Linked DNA regions of Homo sapiens: regions 1 and 3 are each linked to region 2. The links are contacts of gene promoters, found by promoter capture Hi-C in human tissues and cell types (Jung and others, 2019). All regions are on one chromosome and are shown on one strand. The core of a region is centred on a gene start or on the middle of the fragment in contact, and the rest is flanking DNA. Distances in the headings are between cores, read along the strand shown. Region 1 overlaps SEZ6 (seizure related 6 homolog). Region 2 holds the start of SEZ6 (seizure related 6 homolog). Region 3 has its middle 26 kb from the start of PIPOX.

The links. Contacts are between HindIII fragments. The study calls those that stand out against the background at their distance.
Region 1: a fragment that was not itself captured here is called in contact with the fragment with the promoter of SEZ6 in region 2 in 4 of the 25 tissues and cell types used here (H1 embryonic stem cells, liver, mesendoderm cells and 1 more).
Region 3: a contact is called between a fragment that was not itself captured here and the fragment with the promoter of SEZ6 in region 2, in 3 of the 25 tissues and cell types used here (hippocampus, mesendoderm cells and thymus).

What each region holds. Positions count from the first base shown.
Region 1 is chr17:28,964,183-28,967,644 of GRCh38, reverse strand. The region is part of intron 4 of SEZ6 (seizure related 6 homolog); the gene reads left to right. The region is part of intron 1 of LOC105371716 (a long non-coding RNA gene); the gene reads right to left. Among named protein-coding and RNA genes, the nearest start is that of PHF12, 14 kb to the right of the region's middle. RefSeq lists an enhancer at 1-18. The HindIII fragment of the contact is 3,586 bases long and covers 163-3,462 here.
Region 2 is chr17:29,004,229-29,007,814 of GRCh38, reverse strand. It overlaps SEZ6 (seizure related 6 homolog), which reads left to right and starts at 1,782. Exons shown (of 17, transcript NM_178860.5): 1 at 1,782-2,000. The coding sequence starts at 1,946. The region is part of intron 2 of LOC105371716 (a long non-coding RNA gene); the gene reads right to left. RefSeq lists a silencer at 1,836-2,019 and an enhancer at 3,370-3,586. The HindIII fragment of the contact is 3,335 bases long and covers 790-3,586 here.
Region 3 is chr17:29,067,076-29,070,657 of GRCh38, reverse strand. No RefSeq gene overlaps it. Among named protein-coding and RNA genes, the nearest start is that of PIPOX, 26 kb to the right of the region's middle. The HindIII fragment of the contact is 5,950 bases long and covers 1-3,582 here.

The DNA of each region.
Region 1 (3,462 bases), core at 706-3,205, 40 kb after region 2:
TGGTCTAGACCCCACTAGGCGTCAGTTAACCTCTTAACCTCCTCCACTCTGGGTGTGGTGCCCCACACCCCTTTCTCCATCCCATCCTGGACTGGGACCTCTCCCCAGGTCACTGTGAGTGGCTGCCCTGGACAACCACCCAGAGCAGGCTTGTCTGTTACTCTCAGATTTCTCTGACCCCTGAACCCAAGTTTCTACTTCAAATGAGGAAGCAGGTGGGGTGGTGGTGGAAAGCAAGAAGGCTTCAGAGCCCAGGAGCTTCAAGTTCCTGGTCTAGTACTTCCTTGCTGTGTGATGAGGGCACAGGGTCTCTCTGAACCTGTTCTCATCTGAAAATGGGCTCATAGCCCCTACCTTGCCTGCCTTTCTCCCAAGCATATTGTAGACATCAAGAAAGAAGAGTGTGAAGGCATTTTAGAATCTGGAAAGTACATGTAGATGTGAGGTGCTATTATTAATCAAGATTACAAACAATAACAGCAGGCTGATGTCTTAGGCATTTGTTCAGGAACTGCACATATGTCTTCTCACTTAACCTCCACAACCTTGGATGTAATACTGAAAGTGGGTGGATAAATGAGGCAACTGAGGCACAGAGAATTTAGGTAACTTGCCCACGGTGGCACAGCACGTAGGGAAGAAGCCTGCATTCAAACCCAGGCAGTCTGACCCACAGCCCACCTGCTAAGCACTGCCCTGTACTGCCTGCCAAGCACAACTAGCCACTTACCGACCATTCTCTCCAGAGCCCCATGAGAGACAGAAGAGGAGGAATTCTCCTCCCACTTTCACAGACATAGTAACAGGACAGGTGAAAGTCATAAAACTCAAATTTCTGGACCCTGGTCTGCCCTGAGACAGCCTCTTTTTCTTTTTCTTTTTCTTTTTAATGGGGGGGAAGAAAGAGGGCCCATTTTTCTATTCACACAAAGGCACCCAGGAACAGAGGCCTTGCATGGACCTCTCCTCCCATTTACCTGATACCATCAGTGGGGCTGCCCCCTACCCCAAGACCCAAGATCTTCAGTCTAGACAGTCCTCACTTTTCCTACCACCCCAAGGGTTATCAGGCTCTGTAGCACAAGCCTCTCAGCCTCTCCTTGACCCCTCCAGGCCTTTGCTCTCACCTCTTAGACGCAAGCCAGGATCTTCACTTTTTTTTGAGAAAGAGTCTCACTCTGCCGCCCAGGCTGGAGTGCAGTAGCGCAATCTCCACTCACTGCAACCTCTGCCTCCCGAGTTCAAGCGATTCTCCTGCCTCAGCCTCCCAAGTAACTGGGACTACAGGCGCGTGCCACCATGCCCAGATCATTTTTTTTTTTTTTGTATTTTTAGTAGAGATGGGGTTTTACCATGTTAGCTGGTCTCGAACTCCTGATTTTGTTATCCACCTGCCTCGGCCTCCCAAAGTGCTGGGATTACAGGTGTGAGCCACCGTGCCCAGCTGGATCTTCACTTTTATTTTATTTTATTTTATTTTATTTATTTATTTTATTTTTTGGAACATGGAGTCTCACTCTGTCGCCCAGGCTGGAGTGCAATGGCATGATATCGACTCACTGCAACCTCCATCTCCCCGGTCCAAGCGATTCTCCTGCCTCAGCCTCCCGAGTAGCTGGGATAACAGGCGCCTGCCACCATGCCCAGCTAATATTTTTGTATTTTATTAGTAGAGATGGGGTTTTGCCATGTTGGCCAGGCTGGTCTTGAACTCTTGACCTCAGGCCATCCGTCCACCTCAGCCTCCCAAAGTGCTGGGATTACAGGCGTGAGCCACTGCACCGGGTTGATCCTTTTAGCTACCACCCCAGCTTGACCCCAGGATCGGGATATGCCAGATTGTTTTGTAGGATTTGCTGCCACCATTTGGTCAAATTTGGTATGACAATTCCAAAGCTACCAGCTTTCCCAGGGCAACTTGTTCTTTCCCCAACTTCCATGAAGGCAGTGCACTGCCTCCCTACCCTCGTCCCCATCTTTTTCTTGTTTGTTTGATGTTGTTTTTCGAAACAGGGACTCACTCTGTCACCTAGGCTGGAGCGCAGTGGTGCAATCATAGTTCACTGCAGCCTTAAACTCCTAGGCTCAAGCGATCCCACTTCAGCCTCCTGAGTAGCTAAGACTACAGGTACACATCACCATGCCTGGGTATTTTTTAAAAATTTTTTACAGAGATGGGGACCTCACTATGTTGCCCAGGCTGCTCTTGAACTCCTGGCCTCAAGCAATCCTCCCACCTTGCCCCAGCCTACCACCATTCTGGATTTTGTTTGTTTGTAAGTTTGTTTTTTTGAGATGAAGTCTCGCTCTCGTCCCCTAGGCTGGAGCGCAATGGCACGATCTCGGCTCACTGCAACCTCCACCTGCCGGGTTCAAGCGATTCTCCTGCCTCAGCCTCCCGAGTAGCTGGGATTACAGGCGCCTGCCATCACGTCCGGCTGATTTTTGTATTTTTAGTAGAGATGGGGTTTCTCCATGTTGGCCAGGCTGGTCTCGACCTCCTGACCTCAGGTGATCCGCCCACTTCGGCCTCCCAAAGTGCTGGGATTACAGGCATGAGCCACCACTCCCGGCTGTTTGTTTGTTTTGAGATGGAGTTTTGCTCTCGTTGCCCAAGCAGGAATGCAATGGAGTGATCTCAGCTCACCACAACCTCCACCTCCCGGGTTCAAGCGATTCTCCTGCCTCAGCCTCCCCCGTAGCTGGGATTACAGGCATGCGCCACCATGCCCGGCTAATTTTGTATTTTTAGTAGAGACGGGGTTTATCCATGTTGGTCAGGCTTGTCTCGAACTCCCGACCTCAGGTGATCCGCCCACCTCGGCCTCCCAAAGTGCTGGGATTACAGGCATGAGACACCGGCCCGGCCACCATTCTGGTTTTAAAAGAAGTCCATGGCCATTGGCATCAAGCTTTTTAGCATTTCTCAGTGAATACTGGGAAAGCCTTTACTGTCTGATTTCACTCTTTGCTGCTGCAATTCATATTTATTCCCTAAAGGAAAAACAGTATCAACACTTTACATCTGTATAGGTTTTTCACTATTTCAAGTGCTTTCATGTCTACGAGTCATTCAATAAGCATTTCCTGAAGATATAATATCAGCTGGGTACCAGAGATACCAAGCTAGATAAAATACTCTATCATTTCTTCTCACAGTAACCCTGTAGGTAGGCTAGGATTTTAAACCTCATTTAACAAATGAGGAAACACACACACAAAGATTAAATAACCTGCCTAAAGTGTCATAAAGCTTGAGCCAGAACCTAACCCTTCTAATTTCCAGCTCTGTCTGCTCCACTAACCAGCCCAGGCTGCTGGAAATATCACTGGTAACCTTCTAGGGAGGAGATTGGAGTTGTTTTGGAACTCCTAGTGCTTCCTCTGGCCCCAAATGACACCTCCAGGCAGACTGAGGCAGACCTCCCCCAACCAATGGCCCAGCTCCCGCCCCCACCCTGC
Region 2 (3,586 bases), core at 533-3,032:
TCTTGCATCAGCTCCTCCTTCTTCCTGCCATCCTTCTGCTGCTGCCCTCTTTTTCCTCAGCTTCTCAAAACAACTGTCCAGAAATCCCAGCGTCTTCCTAATTCCACACGCCATCTGCCTGCTGCCTGGGACTCTTTACAGCAGTCATCACAGCTCCCCAGAGCCCACAAGAAGAGGGTCTGGAGAGAATCCAACCAGCAGAGTTGGGAGACTCTGGTCAAGAGGACCAAAACACTCTCTAAGGAACTTGAGCAGAAATTTCACCACCTGCTTCCAGGATGAGGGTCAGGAAGGACACTGGACAATGACTGGAGTCTGGAAGCTTTGGAGAGCAACCAAGTTCATGTAAAAAGAAACTAAACAAAAAACTGCCCTTCTCCCAGGGGCAATAGGGAGTTCAGCCCTCCTATTCCTCTACAGGGAATAATAACATCAGCCATAGGATCCTGTCCCATTGTACCCATTAAAGCTCTTCAAGTGAGCCCATCCATGAGCCCCTGCCTTTAAAGAGCAGCCTCAGGATGGCACAGCTGTGACTGCCCCCTTGCTGTCCTGTGACTCACTGGGGCTCCTCAGCCCAAGCAGGGCCCTGGAAAGTTATTTTTCCATGCCTTTAATAGTACAGGCTACACCCCTGGGCCTCCTTCAAGTCTCTATCTAAAACAGCCGTAGGGCACAGTGGCTCATGCCTGTAATCCCAGCACTTTGGGAGGCCAAGGCGGGAGGATCTCTTGAGGCCAGGATTTCAAGACCAGTTTGGGCAACATAATGAGACCTTATCTCTGCAAAAAATTTAAAAATTAGCCAGGCTTGGGGGTGCATGCCTGTAGTTCTAGCTACTTGAGAGGCTGAAGTGGGAGGATCTCTTGAGCCCAGGAGTTTGGGTGAGCTATTAATATAATTGTGCCACTGCATTTCCAGCCTAAGCAACAGAGACCCTGTCTCTAAAAACAATAATAAAATAAAATAAAATAACAGCTCTAGGAAACCCTCTCTCATGCCTATGCCATTTTCTCCACCAATTCCAGAAACCTGGGCAGAGATGGCATGAAGGGTCTGTATCGACTGTCACTGTGGCTTCTCTGGTCCTGCAGAGGGGCCAAGGCAGAGTCCTGGAGACCCAGGGCTACGTGGGGACCCAGGATACTACCTTCAGCTGCCCACAGCTTGGCCCAGGTTGCCTCCTGCCAAGTGAAGAATGTCTCCCCAGGATGCGAGTGCCACTGGCTTTTAACTATAATATCAGGATAATTAAGCTTTTCTGTGAGCACAGTTTGCTGCTGATGCAGCTGCCTGGAGCCCTGGCATTTATTGAGCGCAAAGTAATAATTTATTATCCTTTGTACGCTCAAAAGCCATCTTCATTATCGTCCCAAGACGGAACTGCCACAAGGGCACGCGGGCCTCACCAGCTGCCTCACTCTCGGATGTCTTCCCAGGTCACCCTTGACGCCCTCAGGTACCAGGATTGGGTGGAGAGGGGTGGGGAAAGTGTTGCTCTTTCTCATGGAGAATCAGAAGGCTACAGTGAGCTATTAATTGAGGTTCCTTAGCAGGCCGTTAACGGGAAAGAGGGTGGCATGCTTGGCTGGGGGTGGGCAGCGCAGAAGGGCAGGGGCCGTGTGCCCACATGAGTAGGGCAGTCGCGGTGGAGCGGGAGCCTGGGCTCCTGCCCCTGGGTCTCTGCGCCTTTGCATGAGACTTTACGGTAAGCCGCTCCTCCCGCGCCCCCGCCCCCAGCCCCGCTCGGCGATCCCCGGCGCCGTCGCCAGGCGCTGGCCGTGGTGCTGATTCTGTCAGGCGCTGGCGGCGGCAGCGGCGGTGACGGCTGCGGCCCCGCTCCCTCTACCCGGCCGGACCCGGCTCTGCCCCCGCGCCCAAGCCCCACCAAGCCCCCCGCCCTCCCGCCGCGGTCCCAGCCCAGGGCGCGGCCGCAACCAGCACCATGCGCCCGGTAGCCCTGCTGCTCCTGCCCTCGCTGCTGGCGCTCCTGGCTCACGGTAAGGGACCCCGGCATCCGGCGGCAGGACGGGGGCGGGAGCGGGGCCCCAGGGGTGGGAAGGGAGACCCGGTGCCCAGCTTCGGGCATCTGGCTGCCCAGTCCAAGCACCGCGCCCCGCCGGCTGCGCTGCCCCCGGCGCCGGCCAAGCCGGGCGGGGCGCGGGCTTCGCGGGCGGGAAGCTGCCGCGGCTCCCGCCATTCGCGCCCGGCCGAGACCTCGTCTTTAATCATCTCCCCAGATCTAATGGGATTTCTCTGATGCAATTCATCACGCCACCCACTCCCCGCACACACGCGCTCACCCGCGCGCTACCTCGCCACACTCTAGGCATCTCAGGGTGCTGGGGCGCGTGCCGGGGGGCGCAAGGCAGTGAGTCGGGACGGTCCAGCTGGCGGCCCGTGGTCCCGCTTCCCCTGCCGCCCGCCAAACTTCGCTCGACTTTGCCGCCGGTTCCAGGGCCTCTAGTGTTCTTACTGAGGGGAGACGGGGCCGGATGGCGGCCGGACCCGGGGTTGGGACCTCGCTCACCTCCCCATGCCCTGGCGCTGCCACGCCAGAGTCGGGACCTAGAGCACAATTCTAGAGAGAAACTCCAAGGGCCTGGACCCCCTATCTGGCTCCTGGCTCTGCCCTCGGCTGCAGCAGCGGAGATCCTGGGATAGAGACTCTGTCCTCCCCAAAGTCCTTTCCTTGTACACACACACACACACACACACACACACACACACACACACCACTGCCCCGAGCTCTGCCTCCCTCCCGGCCTGCCTTCCTGCCCGGCCCTGGTCCACTCCCCACCTGCAAGGCAGATTTGTCTCTGGAGGACCTGTTCCCCACACCCTGAGAATCCCCGCGCCCCCTCTAGGAGTCTGGTCCCCAACTTCGTCGGTCTTGGGTAGAGGGAAGCTTGGCCATGGTGTGAGCGGCAAGGGAGTGTTGGGGAGAGGATAGGGGTTCCGTGCCTCGGGGAAGAGTCTTGTCTGGACCTGCCGTCCTGGCTCAAACAAGCTCTCATGGAAGCTACTGGCACCCACGTCCTTCTCCCGCTGCAGTAGGCTGGTAGGGTCGGCAGAACCGCACTTGGAGTTGAGACCTGCCATCCCTTGCCATATGGTTTGAAGGGCCTGATGTGAAGTGTGAGGGTGGGAGTTTCTAACCTCCCTGCTCGATCTTTCCAGGCCGCTGCCGAGGTCAAGGCAGCGCGGCCAGGGACAGGCTGGGCCCCCGGACGGCAGTTTTCTTCATCCAGGAAGAAAAACTGTGGCCCCGGAGACGCAGAAGCCTTTTTCTGAGCCTCTAGCTCCACTTGCACACAGCCCAGTGTCCTCACCCCGCTACCGGGCTGCCCATGCTGGATCCTCCGGCAGCGCCCAGAACTTGAAACCGTGTGCTCACGTTCTGGGGAGAGGGGAAGAGTCCTGCAAGACCCACCCCAGGGATGAAGACCGGGAAGGAGAAGTGTGAATCCCTGCCTAGCTGCCTGGGGATGTCCCTAGGAATTCCGAACCTATCTTGGGTCCTGATGGGTCCTGGCGCTGGACAGCTCCCCTGGGGCGCAGGGCCTGTGTCTGTCCCCTGGCAGTT
Region 3 (3,582 bases), core at 480-2,979, 63 kb before region 2:
AGCCTGCCTTGGTCACTGAATGAAGGGCCCCATTATCATCCCTGGGAGAAAGTACTGCCTTAAATCTAACCCTAATCCCTTCTGTTCCCCGTTCATTTCCACTGCACCGGTTCTCTGGGAAGCTGGAACACTTCGTCACCTTTTATATAGCAACACATTCCAGACAAGTCTATGATAATTTGTCCTTGCCTGCTTCTACTGGCGGCCACCCTGACTCCTTCCATCTTCTCCTAGGACATATTTTCTAAAACCTCCAGCCTGGTGGGCAGTCCGACACGTTCGGTAATGTACCAAGCTCTGCCGCCTTTCAGGCTGCTGCCTTTTCACCTCCAGAGTGGTGCCCCCGTGCAGTAATGAAAACAAAGCAAAAATAGACAAAACCTGCCAAACTGAGTTCTTCTGCGTCTAGCACTGCGACCTTGGAGAAGGGGCTTAACCTGTCAGGCCTCAGTTTCCCCATCTGTGAAACAAGGTAGTATTGCTGGCAAGAACCTTCTGGCTTCTAAATTCAGAGCTCCTTACCACAGCCAAAAGAATCTCCCACGCCCTCCCCCTTCATCCCCCCTAGTGAGGGACTGACAGTTGATGCCCAGTGGGGCTTCGAGATCCGGGTGCTGTGGAAGAAACGTTGTGCATGGTCTGTCGGGAGTTAGTTTCCATTCAGACACTCGGTTGAACCTCGAGGTCCTCTCATTTCCTCTTCTTCCCTAGCCCGCTCTGCCAGTCCAGGCTTGTGCCCTACCATTCACTGGGAAACCGAGAGCTCGTTAGCATATTCATATATATATTTGCATATCCACTTTTCATTGGCGCACGTGGCCCTCTGGTCCCGCCCCTGCCTGGAGGTTCTTTACGCACTTCCCAGAAGCCACTCCCCTTAAAAGAAATGGGTTTTCAAGCCGCCGATGGGCAGCCCATCTGTGTTGCCCTTTTAATGATTACAGCGGCATTAGGACAGGTCTACTCTCCGAGCAACCCGGAAATAATGTTTCCCGCCCTTTTAAGGGCCCTTGGAACTCTGGCCTGAGCTGAGGCCCAGAGTCAGTGACTGGGACTGACAGGCCCCTTCCTACCCTGTCAGTAGTGAGAGGAGGGTAATAAGAGCAATAATTGGCCGGGTGCGGTGGCTTACGCCTGTAATCCCAGTACTTTTGGGAGGCCGAGGAGGGTGGATCACCTGAGGTCAGGAGTTCAAGACCAGCCTGGCCAACATGGTGAAACCCCATCTCAACTAAAAACAATACAAAAATTAGCCGTGCGTGGTGGCAGGCACCTGTAATCCCAGCTACTTGGGGGGCTGAGGCAGGAGAATCGCTTGAACCCGGGAGGCAGAGGTTGCAGTGAGCCAAGATCGTGTCATTGCACTCTGGCCTAGGGGACAAGAGAGAGACTTCATCTCAAAAAAAAAAAAAAAGGACCAACAACAGTTCCCATTTGTTGAGCACTTACTATGATGACCCCAGCGCTTAAGCACTTTGCCCTACAAAATCTCATTTCACCTCCATCACAACTCTGTGAAGACGTCATCCTGGAAAGAAAACTGAGGCTGAGGGGTGATGTCATCTTTCTAAGCAGAGTCCTCAACTTGCTTCCAGCAGCTGGCCAGGCGTCTCCTAACTATTCTGGCCTTGGCAGAGGATGCAGTGAGAGGCAAGAAAGCAAAGAATCACTACCATGGTCCTCATCTCAAATCGCGTGTGCCTGGCATTCGCCAAGTCCTGGCCTCAGAAAGGAAACGCTTCTTGGCAATTTGGGGGGAAAATATCTACTTCACATTTGCGTCGCGCTTCACAATTTTCAGAGCATCCCCCATATATTATCACATTTTCACTTCACTCCCACTGTGCCAGCAATATGAATAACAGTTCCACATCGCTCAGAATGCATATTTTAAGCTATATTCACTTCAGTCTAATTTCATTACAGTACAACAACAATCCAGACCATTCCCTGCTATTTGATCTGGGAGGAAAGATTTCCAGAGCAGTAGCCATTTTGGAGTTAACAAGGATACTGGATGTGTTTAGAAGGAATTGTACAGAGAAATTGAGTCTTCTGTAGCGTGAGCCCCAGAGATGGGTCATAAACATAAGGGAGATTCCAAAAAGAGTGTGTGCTTTGCGACTGAAGTCAGTCACATAAATCCCCCAGTGGAATACTTATATGTGCAGATAGAATTTGCTGTAGATATCAAAAGTCAGCTATGACAGTTTTAGAAGAAAAGAAAATTCAAAAAGGATATTACGTTTTGACACTATCCAGCCAAATTATATTTGAAGTGGCTTAAGAGTCAAAGAGTTTCCACATTTTAAGAAATTTTTATATGTTTTGTGCCACATCTATGATCTGACTAGATTAGGAAAAGCAGCAAATGGATTTGGGAAAGAGAGGACACTAGGGAATTTGAAAATGGAAATTTAAAAAAAAAAGGAGTTAAGGCTGAGGTGGGTGGATCACCTGGAGTCAGGAGTTCGAGACCAGCCTGGCCAAGATGGTGAAACCCCCTCTCTACTAAAAATACAAAAATTAGGCCGGGCACGGTGGCTCACGCCTGTAATCCCAGCACTTTGGGAGGCTGAGGCGGGTGGATCACGAGGTCAGGAGATCAAGACCATCCTGGCTAACACGATGAAACCCCATCTCTACTAAAAAAATACAAAAAATTAGCCGGGCATGGTGGCGGGTGCCTGTAGTCCCAGCTACTCGGGAGGCTGAGGCAGGAGAATGGCATGAACCCAGGAGGCGGAGCTTGCAGTGAGCAGAGATCCGAGCCACTGCACTCCAGCCTGGGCGACAGAGCAAGACTCCGTCTCAAAAAAAAAAAAAAAAATTAGCTGGGCGTGTTGGCGGGAACATGTAATCCCAGCTACTCGGGAGGCTGAGGCAGGAGAATCCCTTGAAGGTGGAGTTTGCAGTGAGACGAGATCATGCCATTGCACTCCAGCCTGGGCGACGGGTGAGACTCTGTCTCAAAAAGAAAAAAAGGAGTTTAAAAAAATCTCTGCATGGGGAAGATATAGCCAATAGCTTCGGAAACATTAGCACTTTGAAAGACCGGTGAGTGACAGGCAGCCAGGCAAATATAAAATTGTATGTGATGAAAGAGGTCTCATGGCTCATCTTAACCCTGGGGCCTGGCATCAACTGCAGGTTGGCACCCTTGCTTGAGGACTGCTGGGGGACTACTGTCCAAGGAAGAGTGACCCTAGTGAGTGCACTCCCTGGAAGGTTCTGCCCTGGAAGCACAGGTCTCATGGCCTGCCTTTGTGGGTTCCGGAGAACATCTGTGGGAGCTACTGTTTCTGGTGGAAACATACTCAGCCACTGGGCAGGTTTTAATAGTAGAAAGGAGCTTCTGCTCCCAGGAACCGACAAAATAAGCCTAGAGAACCAACTAGAAAGTGAGGCAGTCTTACAGCTCTGTTAATGGGTTCCTAAGGTTACATATAGACATGACAAAAGTAGAAGGGAAAACACAGATCAATAAATAAATATTAGAAGGGACCTCTGAAAACTATAAGTAGTTTTACCTGGGGATGTGGGGTTATAGATGAAGTGGCTGTGCTTTCAATACCAAGTTTT